Regions from separate parts of the Homo sapiens genome. Here all the other regions are linked to region 1. The links are contacts of gene promoters, found by promoter capture Hi-C in blood cells and fetal thymus (Javierre and others, 2016). All regions are on one chromosome and are shown on one strand. The core of a region is centred on a gene start or on the middle of the fragment in contact, and the rest is flanking DNA. Distances in the headings are between cores, read along the strand shown.

Region 1 (5,031 bases), core at 727-3,226:
TCCTGCCTTGACCTCTGGCTCCCTCTCCTCAGGAACAAGTCACTTTCATGTAGACTCCTTGGAATGGCAAAGGTCTGGTCCCTGGCTGAGGGCTCCTCAGCTTTAAGGCCTAGGGGGTCTTCACACCGCTCCACTCTCAGCGCCTGTCCATGCCCTTGCCTGCTCCCAAGGAGCCATGACTTTGGCAGATTCTGGCCAATCCACAGAGGCTTACCCAGATAAATGGCATGGGAGGGTAAGGGTTGATGCAGGGTAAGGTTGAGAACTCACTGAGTAGGACTGGGAAGGAGAGATGGAGAGATGAATGCTGAATTTCCAGAGCCATGTGCACATGCTGGTGTGCACGTGCTCACACCCATCACACCTCACCCCTCCCAGACACACCCACCCCGCCACAGCCATTTCCAGAGGGTACCCCAGGCCCATGGCTTTCTCGACTTTCTGGCCCATTAGGCAGCAAGTCTGGAAAGAGCTAGAGAAAGCAAGGGAGGAAGCGAGGGAGTTGTTTGGGGGTGGATGGGGAGGCATATTACGTAGTTGGGCTTGACAGAAAAATCCCATTCTCTTCCCAGTAACCTCCAGTGTTTGAGAAAAGAGGAGGGCCACAGGGGCAGGGCGCAGAGGAGCAGAGGATGGAGGAGAGGGAGAACCCACAGAGTAAACCTGATTGCAGAAGAGAGGCAAGGAGGGAGGGCCTAGGAGGGTTTGATGTGGGCGATATACCGCCTGGCCGAGAGCGGGTCAGGGGAACAGGGCTGACCCTGACCCCAAACTATCTCTACTTGCCCCACGTTTCTCTTGTCCTTCCAGTTATCCCTCATTCTCCTTCCTTCTAGGGAACAGCTGGTAGGAGCCCAGCCTTCCAGAACTCTTCAGAAATATTTCAAATATGCCCCACCCTCGCTCTCAGAACCCACTTGACACAGCCCTCCCCTTCTCTCTGTCACTCCTTCCTCCCTTCCCCAAATAACCCAGATATTTTCATCATTCTCCCCACCAGAGCAAATGCAAACATAGCATGAGTTTCAAAGTCCCTGTCCCCAGGGTGGCACGTCTGAGCTAGAACAACCAGGCTTGTTTGGCCTGTGTCTTGGAGCCACTGAGACCAGGTGTCTTTCAGATCCATTTCTCCCCTTGGCTCTGTCCTCAGCTGGGACCTGCCCCCAGAGGAAGCCTTCCTTCAGCTCACCTCTGTCCACTGTCACCCCCCACCCAACCCAAACAAGGGAGAGTTTTCTCAAAGAGGCCATCGCATCTTTTTTTGGTCCCTATCCTATTCTAAAATGAGGCTGGTGCTTCAAAAACCTAGTGGCACCCCATGATAATGTGGATTTGGGCACACATGGGAACAGTCCCCATGAAACAGGCCCCACCCATAGGTGGTCAGTAGGCATCTCTGGTTGTCATCCAGGACTTGGGTGGCCCACTCAGGCCCAGGAAGCCCCACCAAGTCCTCCTTCTCTTCCTCTTCCTCCTCCTCCTCTTCCTCCTCCTCCCCCACCCTCCTCCTCTTCCTCCTCCTCCCCCACCCTCCTCGTCTTCCTCCTCTTCCTCCTCCTCCTCTCCTGCTTAGCCGAGGGCTCCTTCCCCCAGCTCCTCACTCAATTCTGTGAGTTCACCCCATGTCTAAGTGCCAGGCCTCCCTGGCCCTCCTGTAGGAAGTTTGTGCTCTGTGATCACCCCGAATCCCTCCCTCATGACGCACACCCCCCCCCACGGCCCGGGCCCTGAAGGATACTTCCATTCTACAATGCTGATGCAGGCCTTCCTCAGGGGGTTCTCCAGGGTCAGGCAGAACAAGGCCCGGGGTGGCCTTGGCAGAATCTCAGGAACTGGCTTCTTGGGCTGTTTCTTCCTCAGGCCTTCATCCTGGGGTGAGGATGGCTCCATGGCTTCCCTGGGAATCTGGCTTTCTCCTGCTCCCCCACCCCAGTGCTTTCCCTTCCCTGTGTCCCCAATGCCCCCGCCTTGGGGACTAGGCTGGCTGAGGCTGTCGGCTGAGCCTGCCCTGCTGAGCCAGCCAGGGGGCGGGGGCAGGAGTGGGGGCAGGAGGATTACTCTCCTCGCTCCCAGCAAGTAAAATTAGCCTCCACTCGGCTCCCCGCTGCCGGGCCTGAGCTTCTGAGGCCAGGCAGCTGTCATTCCACCCAGCCCAGCCAGTGACTTCCCAATCTGTCCCCTGAGGAGGGTGGGGTGGGTCGGGGGAAGAACTTACACACAGGCCTGGGATGGGGCAGGGGCAGTGGGAGAGGGAGACAGGATGGAAGGTTTCAAGCCTGGGGCAACAGAGGTCAGGAATAGGTAGCCTTGGATATGGAACCTCAAACTGCAGAGTGGCCCCCTCATGCCAAAATTAGGCTTACCCCTCCTCAGCCCCATGACATTGTCTGGAGAAGGCACTGGGCAGCCTAAGTCAGGACAGCTCCACAGCAGCCCCTACCCATCTCAGTATCTGCACCATCAGCCAAAACTCCCCAAGCATACCCTCAACCCACCCCCACAAGCAATCCCATGTCAGAGAAACAGTAAACCCCTCTCCAGTGGGCTAGAAGGCTCCCAGAACAACCCTGAGTGTGCACACCTCTGGCATAGCACCTGCCTCACTGTGGAGCATCTGCTGTGTATCTTTCTTCCCCATCTCCTCCCATCCCTACAGGTGTAAAGGTTGTGTGCATTATCTCTGGGACTCTGGCCCCTTCTCTGCACAGTCCCCCTATGTACTATGCTCCCTGTAAATGTTCACTGAGGCCAGGCATGGTGGCTCACGCCTGTAATCCCAACACTTTGGGAGGCTGAGGTGGGAGAATGGCTTGAGCTCAGGACTTCAAGACCAGTCGGGGCAACGTAGTGAAACTCTGTCTCTACAAAAAATACAAAAATTAGCAGGGTATGGTGGTGTGTGTTTGTAGTCCCAGCTACTAGGGGGGCCAAGGTGGGAGGATCAGTTGAGCCTGGGAGGTTGAGGCTGCAATGAGCCAAGATCTGGCCACTGCACTCCAGCCTGGATGACAGAGTGAGACAGAGTGAGACCTTGTCTCAAAAAGAAAAGTTCATTGAGGATAGCCACGGTAATCCCAGCACTTTGGGAAACCAAGGTAGGTAGATAACTTGAGGTGAGGAATTCGAGACCAGCATGGCCAACATGGTGAAACCCGCATTCTACTAAAAATACCAAAGATTAGCGGGCGTGGTGGTGTGCACCTATAATCCCAGCTACTCTGGAGGCTGAGGCAGGAGAATTGCTCAAACCCAGGAGAAGGAGGTTGCAGTGAGCAGGGATTGAATCACTGCACTCCAGTCTGGGCAACAGAGCAAAACCTGTCTCAAAAAAAAAAAAAAAAAAAAAAAAATTCATTGAACGCCTGAGCTAACAACACTGAATCTTAAATGTGCTGAGCTAACAGCGAACCCCACATATCCTCCCAGCAAGTACTCTGGGCTGGGAGTGAGAATAAGAAAGGGGCACCAGGAAGGGTGAGGGTAGACAATGATCTAGGAATGAGAAAATTCAACAATCCTTTTATTTAGCTCTTTGGTGCCGACGCAGTGCCTATGTACCTATATGCACGCCCCCCTCCCCCAAGGCTTACAGTCTGAGGGAAAAAAACCACAGTCCCCACCCAACCTGGGACAAAACTAGACGACCTCATGGGGGGGATGCGGGGAGGGAGTAACCCCCCCTCCCAACCCAGGAAGCCAGAGAACGCCACCGGGGCACACAGGTCGCCTCTGCTGAGTCTGTAGGTTCGGTCTGGGCTGAGCGCCAGCAGCAATCTGGCCTCCCATCCCTTCCTCTGGGTTCCTTTCTCGAGGAGTAAGCGTGCTCCCAAAGAAGTCGCTAGTATCTGAGGCCATCTGGTGGAGAGCAGTGGCATGGTAACCGAGGGCTCAAAGTCGGGCTCGCATCCCGGGGACTCGCAGAGACTGGACTGCGCCTGCGGCAAGGAAGGACGGAGCAGAGCCACCTGAGGCCGAGCGGGAGCCAGACCCAGGGATGACCGTCCTGGGGAGCCCCTCTGCACCCCGGAGGGGACGCAGGACGCCCGGAGCAGTCCCAGGCCCTGCCCCTCGCTTCACCCACGGAGCTCCTAGGTCTCTATCGTGCCCATCGTACCCGCTGCCCTGCACTTCCGCCCCAAGCTGGTGGAGGAGGGAGGGTGTCGCAGACACGGGAGCGCCGCGGACCTCCTACAGTCACCGTCCTGCGGCGCATCGCGGGTGACCCAACAGCCTCCCGCTGCTCCCGAAAGTGGGACGGGGCCGGCGGATCATCCTCCAAGCCGGGGGCGGCCACAGGCCCGATCAATGCCAGGATTCCTCCGACTCCAAGAAAGGCGACGGGGAGAAGCAGGAGGACTCGGATGACTCCGGCACCAGGGAGGAGGGCGCCCGGGCCTCGCCGTCGCCAGGGCGGTCGGGACGGGGGGTGGCGGGCGGCGCGGGGCAGGGCCCGGTGCCCGGGAGGCCGCGGGAAGCGGGGGGCGTCGAGCCGTCGGGGGCCGAGCTCAGCAGCTCTTGCAGGTACTTTATGTAGCGGATGGCGGCGCGCAGCGTCTCCACCTTGCTGAGTCGCTTCTCAGCCAGGGCGCCGGGGAGGTGGCCGCGGAGGCGAGCGTAGCCCTCGTTGACGCACTTGACTCGCTGCCTCTCGCGCTCGTTGCGCTTCTGGATGAAGGCTGGCTCGAAGGGGTATTCGTAGACCCCGAAGGCGCCGGGGAAGGGCACGTAGGGGAACACCCCCGCATAGGCGTCGTAGTAGGGCGGCTCTGCTGGGCCCGGGTACAGCAGGAAGGGCACGTTGCCCAGGGGCTCGGCGGGGGGCAGGGGCGCCTGCCGGGGAGGGGGCATGACGCCCAGCTGCATGCAGCTGGGGGGCCCCAGAGGCCTCCGGTCCACCAGAGCCCGGCAGAAGTTATTGTTCATGGTGCCGCGTGGAGCTGGACCCAGAGCGAGGCCTCCACCGAATGGCCCCGGCTTGGGGTCTGCACCGTCTCCACCAGTGGGGCAAGTCACATCGCTAGCAGCAGCTCT
Region 2 (5,031 bases), core at 1,491-3,990, 560 kb before region 1:
AACCCAGGAGGCAGAGGTTGCAGTGAGCTGAGATAGCACCACTGCACTCCAGACTGGGCAACAGAGTGAGACTCTGTCTCAAAAATAAAGAAAAAGGAAAAGATATAGAGTATGAGTTAACTCTTTAGATACCTTTAGATTTAAGGTGCTTGTATTATGGCCAAGTAGACAATTGAATAAGAGAGCTCAAAAGAAAGAAATGTGCATTTGGGAGTATCAGCTTATAAACAGTGGTTACATCACTCAAGGAGATAAAATTAATAATCATGGCCACCATTTCTTGAGTTATCATGCATCGGGTTTTCTGTGCTAAGTGCTTGTGTCTGTGAGGTGTCGTGTCACTTAGCCCTCAAAGCCATGACCCTCAAGGTACCAGTTTAGAAATAAGAAAACAGAAGTTCTAAGAGTTAAGGAAGTGAGCAGAGAGGTAGGGAGTAAGAAGCAGAACCTCTAGAATCCACGCCCTCAACAGCTTCACTATGCATTGATCTCTAGGGAAAGTAAGGAGACTGCAAGGAAAAGGTCACACTGGGCACCAAATTTTCTTTCTTTCTTATCTCTTCTTTCTTTCTTTCTTTCTTTATTTATTTATTTCTTTTCTTTCTTTCTTTCTTTCTTTTCTTTCTTTCTCCCTTCCTTCCTTCCTTCCTTTCTTTTCTTTCTTTTTCTTTCTTTCTTTCTTTCTTTCTTTCTTTCTTTCTTTCGTTCTGTCGTTCTTTCGTTCTTTCTTTCTTTCTTTTTGAGATGGAGTCTCGCTCTGTTGCCCAGGCTGGAGTGCAGTGTGCAGTGGCACAATCTCAGCTCACTGCAACCTCTGCCTCCCGGGTTCAAGTGATTCTCCTGCCTCAGCCTCCCAAGTAGCTGGGATTACAGGTGCACACCACCACGCCCAGCTAATTTTTGTATTTTTAATAGAGACAGGGTTTCACCATGTTTGCCAGGATGGTCTCAATCTGTTGACCTCAAGTGATCCACCCGCCTCGGCCTCCCAAAGTGCTGGGATTACAGACGTGAGCCACCACTCCCGGCCTGGGCACCGAATTTTTCTGTACGAATTTATGGAGTACAGATGACATTTTGTTACATGTATATAATGCGTAGTGACAAGTAACTTAGGGTACTCAGGGTATCCATCTCTCAAGTACAATACATTTTTGTTCAACCAACACACAGAATTCTAATATTTAAAAGACCTGGTGGAGAATAAGAAGCTCATGAAAGAGATGAAAAAAGAACAATCAGAAAACTCAGGCATATTCTACTGTGGAGACATGAGAGGAAAGAATTTCCAAAGAAAGGGAGCAATTAAGTGAGATTAAGACTGAAAAATCCCTTTGGCTTTTGTAATTAAAAGTTAACTGATGACCTAGGTGAGAGCAGTTTCAGCTGGGGGAGTTGAGGCAGAGGGCAGTGGGGTGACTGGGGAGAGAAGGAGGGGAAAATGGTGATCACCCATCACAGCACCCAAAACAGGAGGCTGGAGAGACAAAAAGGGAGAAGAAAATGGGCAAATATCTGGCATCGCAATTTGTGCTCATCATCACTAATCATCAGGGAAGTGCAAACCAAAACCACAATGAGATTTCATCTCACACCTGTTAAGATGGCTGTGATCAAAAAGACAAGAGGTAAATGTTGGCAAGGATGTAGAAAATAGGGGACCCGGCCGGGCAAGGTGGCTCACGCCTGTAATCCCAGCACTTTGGGGGGCTGAGAAGGGCGGATCACAAGGTCAGGAGATTGAGACCAGCCTGGCCAATATGGTGAAACTCCGTCTCTACTAAAAATACAAAAATTAGCCAGGCGTGGTGGCACGCACCTGTAACCCCAGATACTCAAGAGGCTGAGGCAGGAGAATCGCTTGAACCCGGGAGACAGAAGTTGCAGTGAGCTGAGATCATGCCACTGCACTCCACCCTGGGTGACAGAGTGAGACTCTGTCTCAAAAAAAAAAAAAAGAAAGAAAAAAAGAAATTAGGGGGCCCTTGTACACTGTTGGTGGGAATGTAAACTGGTATAGCCATTATAGAAAAAGGTATGGAGATTCCTCAAAAACTAAAAATAGAACTACCATATGACTGAGCCATCCCTCTTCTGGGTATATACCCAGAGAAAATGAAATTAGCACCCTGTAGAGATAGCTGCATTCCCATGTTCATTGCAGCAATATTCACAATAGCTAAGATCTGGAAACGACCTAACTGTCCATCTGTCCATTGATGGATGAATGGATAAAGAAAATGTTACACACACACACACACGTACGCACACACACACACGTACACACACACACACAAACAGGAATATTCTGCCTTAAAAAAGGAAATTTTGCCACTTGTCACAACGTGGAGGAAGCTTGAGGAAGTTGTGCTAAGTGAAATAGCAGACACAGGAAGACAAATACTGTATGATCTCACTTGTGTGAGGATTCTTAAAAAGTCAAATTCATAGAAGCAGAGAGGTGAAGGCTGTTTGCCAGGGGTTGGGGGTAGGGTGAGGAGAATGGAGAGATGCTGATCAAATTATACAAACTTTCATTTATCAGAAGAATGAATTCTGGGAGTCTAATGTATAGCAAGGTGTATAATAATACTGTATATAGTAGGCCAGGCGCGGTGGCTCATGCCTGTAATCCCAGCACTTTGGGAGGCCGAGGAAGGCGGATCACGAGGTCAGGAGTTCGAGACCAGCCTGATCAACATGGTAAAACCCTGTCTCTACTAAAAAATACAAAAATTATCCGGGAATTGTGGTGGGCACCTGTAATCTCAGCTACTCAGGAGGCTGAGGCAGGAGAATCACTTGAACCCAGGAAGTGGAGATTGCAGTGAGCCGAGGTCCTGCCCCTCCACTCCAGCCTGGGTGACAGAGTGAGGCTCCATCTAAAAAATAAATTAAAAAAAAAATAATGCTGTATAGTATACTTGAAATTTGCTAAGAGTAAATTTTAGGTGTCCTTACCCCCTACACGCACATTCACAAATAGTAACTACATATGGTGATATGGTGATGAATGTGTTGATTGTAGTAATGATTTCACAATGTGTTTGTATATCAAACCATCACATTGCACACCTTGAATATACACAATTTATTTGTTAATTACACCTCAATAAAACTGGGGAAAAAGCTTTATTTTTTTTTTTTTGAGACGGAGTTTTGCTCTTGTCACCCAGGCTGTAGTGCAATGGTGCCATCTCGGCTCACCACAACCTCTACCTCCCAAGTTCAAGTGATTCTCCTGCCTCAGCCTTCCGAGTAGCTGAGATTACAGGCATGTGCCACCACGCCCGGCTAATTTTGTATTTTTAGTAGAGATGGGGTTTCACCATATTGATCAGGCTGGTCTTGAACTCCCGACCTCAGTTGATCTGCCTACCTCGGCCTCCCAAAGTGCTGGGATTACAGGCATGAGCCATCATGCCTGCTCTTTTTTTGTTTGTTTTTTAAATAAAGACCAGGTCTCATTATGTGGGCCAGGCTGGTCTCGAATGCCTGGGCTCAAGTGATCCTCCCATCTTGGCCTCCAGAAGTGCTGGGATTATAGGTGTGAGCCACCGTGCTTGGCCCGTAAACACACACACACACACACACACACACACACACACACACATATATATATATATATATATTTTTTTTTTTTTTTGAGACAGAGTCTTGCTCTGTCGCCAGGCTGGAGTGCCATGGTGCAATCTCGGCTCACTGCAACCTCTGCCTACCGGGTTCAAGTGATTCTCCTGCCTCAGCCTCCCGAGTAGCTGTGACTACAGGCGAAGCTAATTTTTGTGTTTTTTGGTAGAGTCAGGGTTTCACCATGTTGGCCAGGATGGTCTAGATCTCTTAGCCTCGTGATCCATCCATCTCAGCCTCCCAAAGTGCTGGGGTTATAGACGTGAGCCACCATTTTAAAAAGAGGGGGATGTAGGGCCATAGAAAGCGATATCCATTTTCCAAATTTCAGAGATTCTCCATCTTCTTAGTGGACAGCACAATCTGCTCTTCGTGAAAATGAGGCCCCCTAATGGGCAGATGCTCGCTCTTTAGACAAATTCAGAGGTTTTCACTGAATATTAGCCAGAGAAACGAAAGCCTGTGACTTACCACAAAATCGCTCTTAAATTCTTTTTTTTTTTTTTTTTTTGAGATGGAGTTTCACTCTTGTCGCCCAGGCTGGAGTGCAATGTGGCCATCTCAGCTCACTGCAACCTCCGCCTCCCGGGTTCAAGCGATTCTCTTGCCTACGCCTCCTGAGTAGCTGGGATTACAGGCGCGTGCCACCACGCTTGGTTAATTTTTGTATTTTTAGTAGAGACGGGGTTTCACCTTGTTGGTCAGGCTTGTCTCGAATTTCTGACCTCAGGTGATCCACCCACCCCCGGCCTCCTAAAGCGCTGGGATTACAGGCGTGAGCCACCGTGCTCGGCTAAATTCTTTAAAAAACCTATGATTCTCTGAGTTTAGGACCATTCAGCAACAGGAAATATGCAGTTTCCAGTTGCCATTTGCTTAATCAAAAGTTTACCCCTGAATTCTGTCTTGAATAAGTCAGCGATTCTCTGGTGGTTCTCCTGTATGTTCGAGTGTAGTGTGTGTTTTTTGTTTGGTTTTTTGTTTGTTTGACAGTCTCCCTTGGTCTCCCAGGCTGGAGTGCAGTGGCGCAATCTTGGCTCACTGCAACCTCTGCCTCCCAGGTTCAAGCAATTCTCATGCCTCAGCCTCCCGAATAGCTGGGATTATAGGCATGCACTGCCATGCCTGTTTATTATTGTTTTTTTTAGACAGAGTCTCGCTCTATCACCCAGGCTGGAGTACAGTGGCGTGATCTAGGCTCACTGCAACCTCTACCTCCTGGGTTCAAGCCATTCTCCTGCCTCAGCCTCCTGTGTAGCTAGGATTACAGGCGTGCCATGCGCCACCATGCCGGCTAACTTTTGTGTTTTTAATAGTGTTGGGGTTTCACCACGTTGGCCGGGCTGGTCTCAAATTCCTGGCCTCAAGTGATTCACCCTCCTCAGCCTCCCAAAGTGTTGG
Region 3 (5,031 bases), core at 962-3,461, 550 kb before region 1:
TCCAACCAAACATCTATCACATAATGGTGCCTTGTGAAAAAAGACACCCACTGTCCTCTACCTTCTTAGAGCTAACTGTCCATTGAGATGTACAGGCTTATAAATAGTATGTTATATTAAAAGTCATAACGGGTGAAGTTTAGGGTTATCAGAGAAGCAAATAAGACAGGTGCCTAACCAAGTCTTGGGGAGACCTAGAAAATCCTCCTGAGGGAGAACAACGGACATTAAAAACAATCATCTGATTTCAAGTTTACTAGTTAGATCAGTTAAAGATTTCCAAATCCCAGCTAGTAAATAGCCCATTCAGGAAGTATTTGACACAACAAAAATTCTACTGCAATAATAGAATGTGGAAAGTCTTTCGGTGGGCACTATAACATAAAATTTGTTCAATTGTTCTATAACATTTTATTACATGGTCTAATTATCCTTTTTTAAAAGTGAAATCTAACCCTCTTAGTATTTTCTTTTTTTAAATAGTTTACTTTTTGTTATTATTATTGAGACATGGTCTCACTCTGTCATCCAGGCTGGAATGCAGTGGTGCAATCATGGCTCACTGTAGCTTCGAACTCCTGGGCTCAAGCAATCCTCCCACCTCAGCCTCCCAAGTAGCTGGGACCACAGGTACATGCCACCAAAAAATCAGCTGGCTGATTTTTTTTATGTTTTTAGAGACAAAGTATCTAACAAGTTGGATATTTGTTATTATTCACTATGTTGCCCAGGCTGGTCTCAAAGTCCCAGGCTTAACTGATCCTCCTGCCTCAGCCTCCCAAAGTCCTAGTATTATAGGCATGAGCCACTGTACTCGGCCATTAATTTCTTATCTGCTCCTTTTGCATATCAAGGAATTTTTAAGAAGGAATTTGTTAATATGGTAGATGACTAAGTATTCTCCAATATCAATTTTCCACTTCTTCCACAGATCCCTTGATTTCTGGCTTGGCACATAGGTGTCCAGAATTTTTTTAAAAAATACATTTCCTCATGATACTTGCAGCTAGATGTAGTCAAATGATAAAATTCTAGCCAGATATATAAATAGATGTGGCATATGGTGATTTCCAGAAACCTCCCTTAAAAGAAGGCAAACTTCAGCCGGGCGCAGTGGCTCATGCCTGTAATCCCAGCACTTTGGGAAGCTGAGGGGGGCGGATCACCTGAGGTCAGGAGTTCGAGACTAGCCTGGCCAACATGGTGAAACCCCATCTCTACTAAAAATACAAAAATTAGCCGAGCATGGTGGTGAGTGCCTGTAATCCTAGCTACTCGAGAGGCTGAGGCAGGAGAATCGCTTGAACCCAGGAGCAGAGGGGCAGTGAGCCAAGATCACGCCACTGCACTCCAACCTGGGTGACAAGAGTGAGACTCCAGCTCAAAAAAAAAAAAAAAAAAAGGCAAACTTTGCCCTATCCTTCTCACCACTCCTTCCACCCTGCTGTGCTGAGCTCAGATGGGGCTCCTCCATAGTGGGTCATGAAATCAGGGGCTACACTTTGGGCATGGCGGATGGGACCAATGGGAGGAGCCTGGATCCTGAGGACTCTGTGGATCAGAGCCACTGTGTCTACATCTAGATTTTATGTGAGAGAGAATAAGCTTTCATCTTACTTCTTCTTACAGCCAAACCTAATCTTATCTGATACAAGATAAGCAGGAAAACAAAATTATTTCCTTGTCTCTATGTCAGCAGAATTGTGGCCAATTCAGTCTGAGTTGAAATCCAATCCCATACCCAGAGAAAGACTCTGTCTCTCTTCCCAGTATCCCTTATTGAGGGCCAGCATGGTATAATGGCAGAGCATGAACTGGGCCCAAGACTGCCTGGGTCCAAATCCAACTCAGTCATTTACTAGTTAGGTAACATTGGATGGTATATTTATTTTCCCTGTGCCTCCATTTCCTCATCTACAAGATGGTGATAACAACAGTGCCCACTGCTGGGGTTGTTATAAGGATTAAATGAGTTAATATTTGTAAATCACTTAGAACTACTCATACATAGAGAGCCATGTAAGTCTTTGTTTAACAAATCAATTACAGACAACCACAGTCTCAGAACTTCAAAACAGAATGTACTTTTGAAAATCATACAGAGCTAATTTTGGGGAAGATATAGACAGTAGAAAGCCAATAAATAATTATTAAATGAATCCTTCAAATGATAATAAGCAAATCAATTTACCTGCAAAAATAACTGTAAGTAGCCTCCCAGTTTTTTAACTTCTTGTCTCAACTCATCCTCAAGTCTTGCTATGTTGGTACAAGGCAGTAAATCACTCAGCCAGTGTTTCATTAGCACTACTAGCTGCTCAAAAGCACATGCAGTCTGAATAGTAAGTGACTGGATTGCTCGATCAGAAGAAAACACTTTGAAAGAAGAAGAAAAATTACTGAATGAAATATTATCCAAATAAAAGAACTCATATATGATCATCATTAAAACATTTAACACAGTTAAAAGATGCATGCCAGATGTGCCAAATAATCACTCAAAACAAAGTGCAATGTGCAGAAAATAATCATTTATGTGAGTTAACAAAAGCAGTGAGATTGCTTACAGTTATCTTGACTTTCTTCATCTTGTTCTTCATGAGCCTTGGAAATGGCAAATAGCCCATTATAAATTTTAAGAAAACTATTAATTAGGCTGTCTGCTATAGTTCTTTCTTCATCATAACTCTGTCCAAAAAAATCTAACGAAGAACCAATCAATTCTTTGCAAATTCCAGGAAGAAAGGACTCTGCTGAATTTGAGTAAATAGTGCTTGATTTGTCCATTAAACCTACATCAACAGAAAATAGCCATTTTAAGCTTGTTTTCAGGAATAATACTTTCTTTTTTAAAAAAAGGGATCCTTACTTTATGTACTTCTGCATTACTGAAATGTATTACAACAACAAAGCATTTTTGTGTTCACTGTGGAATTAGAAAAACAAAACTATTAGTATATATAACATCGTATGCTATGTTGTACTTGTAAGTATATCTTCCATGCTATACTTGTGTATGTTGATTTCCAGGGTGCTCCATAATGCTAATTCTGCAGAAACTACCCCTCTGCTGCTTGCAAATATTACTCGTATACTATTGCTCTTCCAAAAATGTTCAGGCATAATACTTTCAAACAAATGTTTTATTGCAAGCATATTATAGGATCACTGATCAATAAATTCAAAGTAGGCTATACTTATTTCAATTCAGCCTCATTTCTATATGCTAAAGTGAAAACACAATTCCATTCACGGATCAATTAACCTCTCAACCGCATCAATCCATAGATTTAGTAGCTCCCTGACTATACTATGAGACAATAGAGAATCCAAATATCCCACGTAACCACTGGGTTAATCTCTTTCTTTACTCTATGGTAGGAATTAATTTTCTTTTCTTTCTTTCTTTTTTTTTTTTTAAGAGACAGGGTTGGGCCAGGCACGGTGGCTCATGCCTGTAATCCCAGCACTTTGGGAGGCCGAGGCAGGCAGATCACGAGGTCAGGAGATCGGGACCATCCTGGCTAACGTGGTGAAACCCCATCTCTATTAAAAATACAAAAAAATTAGCTGGGCGTGGTGGCACACGCCTGTAGTTCCAGCTACCCGGGAGGCTGAGGCAGGAGAATTGCTTGAAGCCAGGAGGCGGAGGTTACAGTGAGCCGATATGGCACCACTGCACTCCAGCCTGGGCAACAGAACAAGACTCTGTCTCAAAAAAAAAAAAGAGAGACAGACAGGGTCTTGCTCTGTTGCCCAGGCTGGAATGCAGTGGTTACTCACAAGCGTGATCATAGCACACTGAGCCTCAAACTCCTGGGCTCAAGCAATCCCTTGGCCTCAGCGTCCACAGTAGGTGGGACAACAAGCATGTACCACTATGTCTGGTGGGATTAATTTTCCCTAAAGAACTGTAATTGATGAAAACAATGACAGTTACATAAAATTAGAAGTATAATTGGATTCATAAACTGGAAAAGTAGGCAATGATAAACTACATTAAAAGTAGTGTCTCAGCCGGGCACAGTGGCTCATGCCTGTAATCCCAGCACTTTGGGAGGCCAAGGTGGGTGGATCACCTGAGGCCAGGAGTTCAAGACCAGCCTGGCCAACACGGTGAAACCCCGTCTCTACTAAAAATGAAAAATCAGCCAGGCATGGTGGTGGGCGCCTGTAATTCCAGCTACCTGGGACGCTGAGGCAGGAGAATCACTTGAACCTGGGAGGAGGTTGCAGTGAGCCGAGATCGCGCCATTGCACTCCAGCCTGGGCAAAAAGAGCGAAACTCTGTCCTCAAAAAAAAAAAAACCATAATGTCTCAGTACTTCTACCTTACAATAGTTTCTCCTTGAGGTATACTACAATCAAGATAGGCTAAAACCGGCCGGGCACGGTGGCTCACGCCTATAATCCCAGCATTTTGGGAGGCTGAGGCAGGTGGATCACGAGGTCAGGAGATCGAGACCATCCTGGCTAACACAGTGAAACCCCGTCTCTACTAAAAATATTTTTAAAAAATTAGCCGGGCCTGGTGGCAGGCGCCTGTAGCCCCAGCTACTCGGGAGGTTGAGGCAGGAGAATGGCGTGAACCCGGGAGGCGCAGCTGAGATTGCGCCACTGCACTCCAGCCTGGGAGACAGAGCGAGACTCCGTCTAAAAAAAAAAAAAAAAGGCTAAAACCAACTGATTATCTACAGTTAATACAGCACATCTGTGAGGGATGGATTTTCTAAGCACTGTCTAAACCAGAAATAAATGAGAAGCTTGACTCATTCAGAGCCTCTGGAAATAACTTTATCCTGGAGTCCTAATATATTGAGTATAATTATTCTTATTTAATAGACAAGATTAAGTTTTCTGGTCTACTTCATAGGTGCTTAAAAGCAGCAAACTAAAAGGAGGTAGAATAAAGGCATAGGATGAGGAATATTAAAAAACTAGAACAAAGGTAAGAGTTTGGTTTGTAAAGAGAAAAAAAAAAAGCTACAAAACCCAAAGCTACAGTAGGGTAACGATGACTCAATATCATTA

Evidence for each region. The method cuts DNA at HindIII sites, captures the fragments that hold promoters and counts their contacts. A CHiCAGO score of 5 or more calls a contact.
Region 2: a fragment that was not itself captured here is called in contact with the fragment with the promoter of CACNA1S in region 1 in 1 of 17 cell types (endothelial precursors); the score reaches 5.4 in endothelial precursors.
Region 3: a contact is called between a fragment that was not itself captured here and the fragment with the promoter of CACNA1S in region 1, in 1 of 17 cell types (endothelial precursors). The highest score is 5.2, in endothelial precursors.

Annotation. Positions count from the first base shown.
Region 1 is chr1:201,110,450-201,115,480 of GRCh38, forward strand. It overlaps CACNA1S (calcium voltage-gated channel subunit alpha1 S), which reads right to left and starts at 1,977. Exons shown (of 44, transcript NM_000069.3): 1 at 1,739-1,977. The coding sequence starts at 1,890. It overlaps ASCL5 (achaete-scute family bHLH transcription factor 5), which reads right to left. Exons shown (of 2, transcript NM_001270601.2): 2 at 3,494-5,031. The coding sequence starts at 4,923. The coding sequence ends at 4,303. RefSeq lists a silencer at 4,104-4,153 and an enhancer at 4,804-5,031. The HindIII fragment of the contact is 9,593 bases long and covers 1-5,031 here.
Region 2 is chr1:200,545,182-200,550,212 of GRCh38, forward strand. No RefSeq gene overlaps it. Among named protein-coding and RNA genes, the nearest start is that of KIF14, 73 kb to the right of the region's middle. The HindIII fragment of the contact is 775 bases long and covers 2,354-3,128 here.
Region 3 is chr1:200,562,878-200,567,908 of GRCh38, forward strand. KIF14 (kinesin family member 14) reads right to left here. Exons shown (of 30, transcript NM_014875.3): 24 at 2,568-2,792; 25 at 2,192-2,376. Among named protein-coding and RNA genes, the nearest start is that of KIF14, 55 kb to the right of the region's middle. The HindIII fragment of the contact is 1,216 bases long and covers 1,604-2,819 here.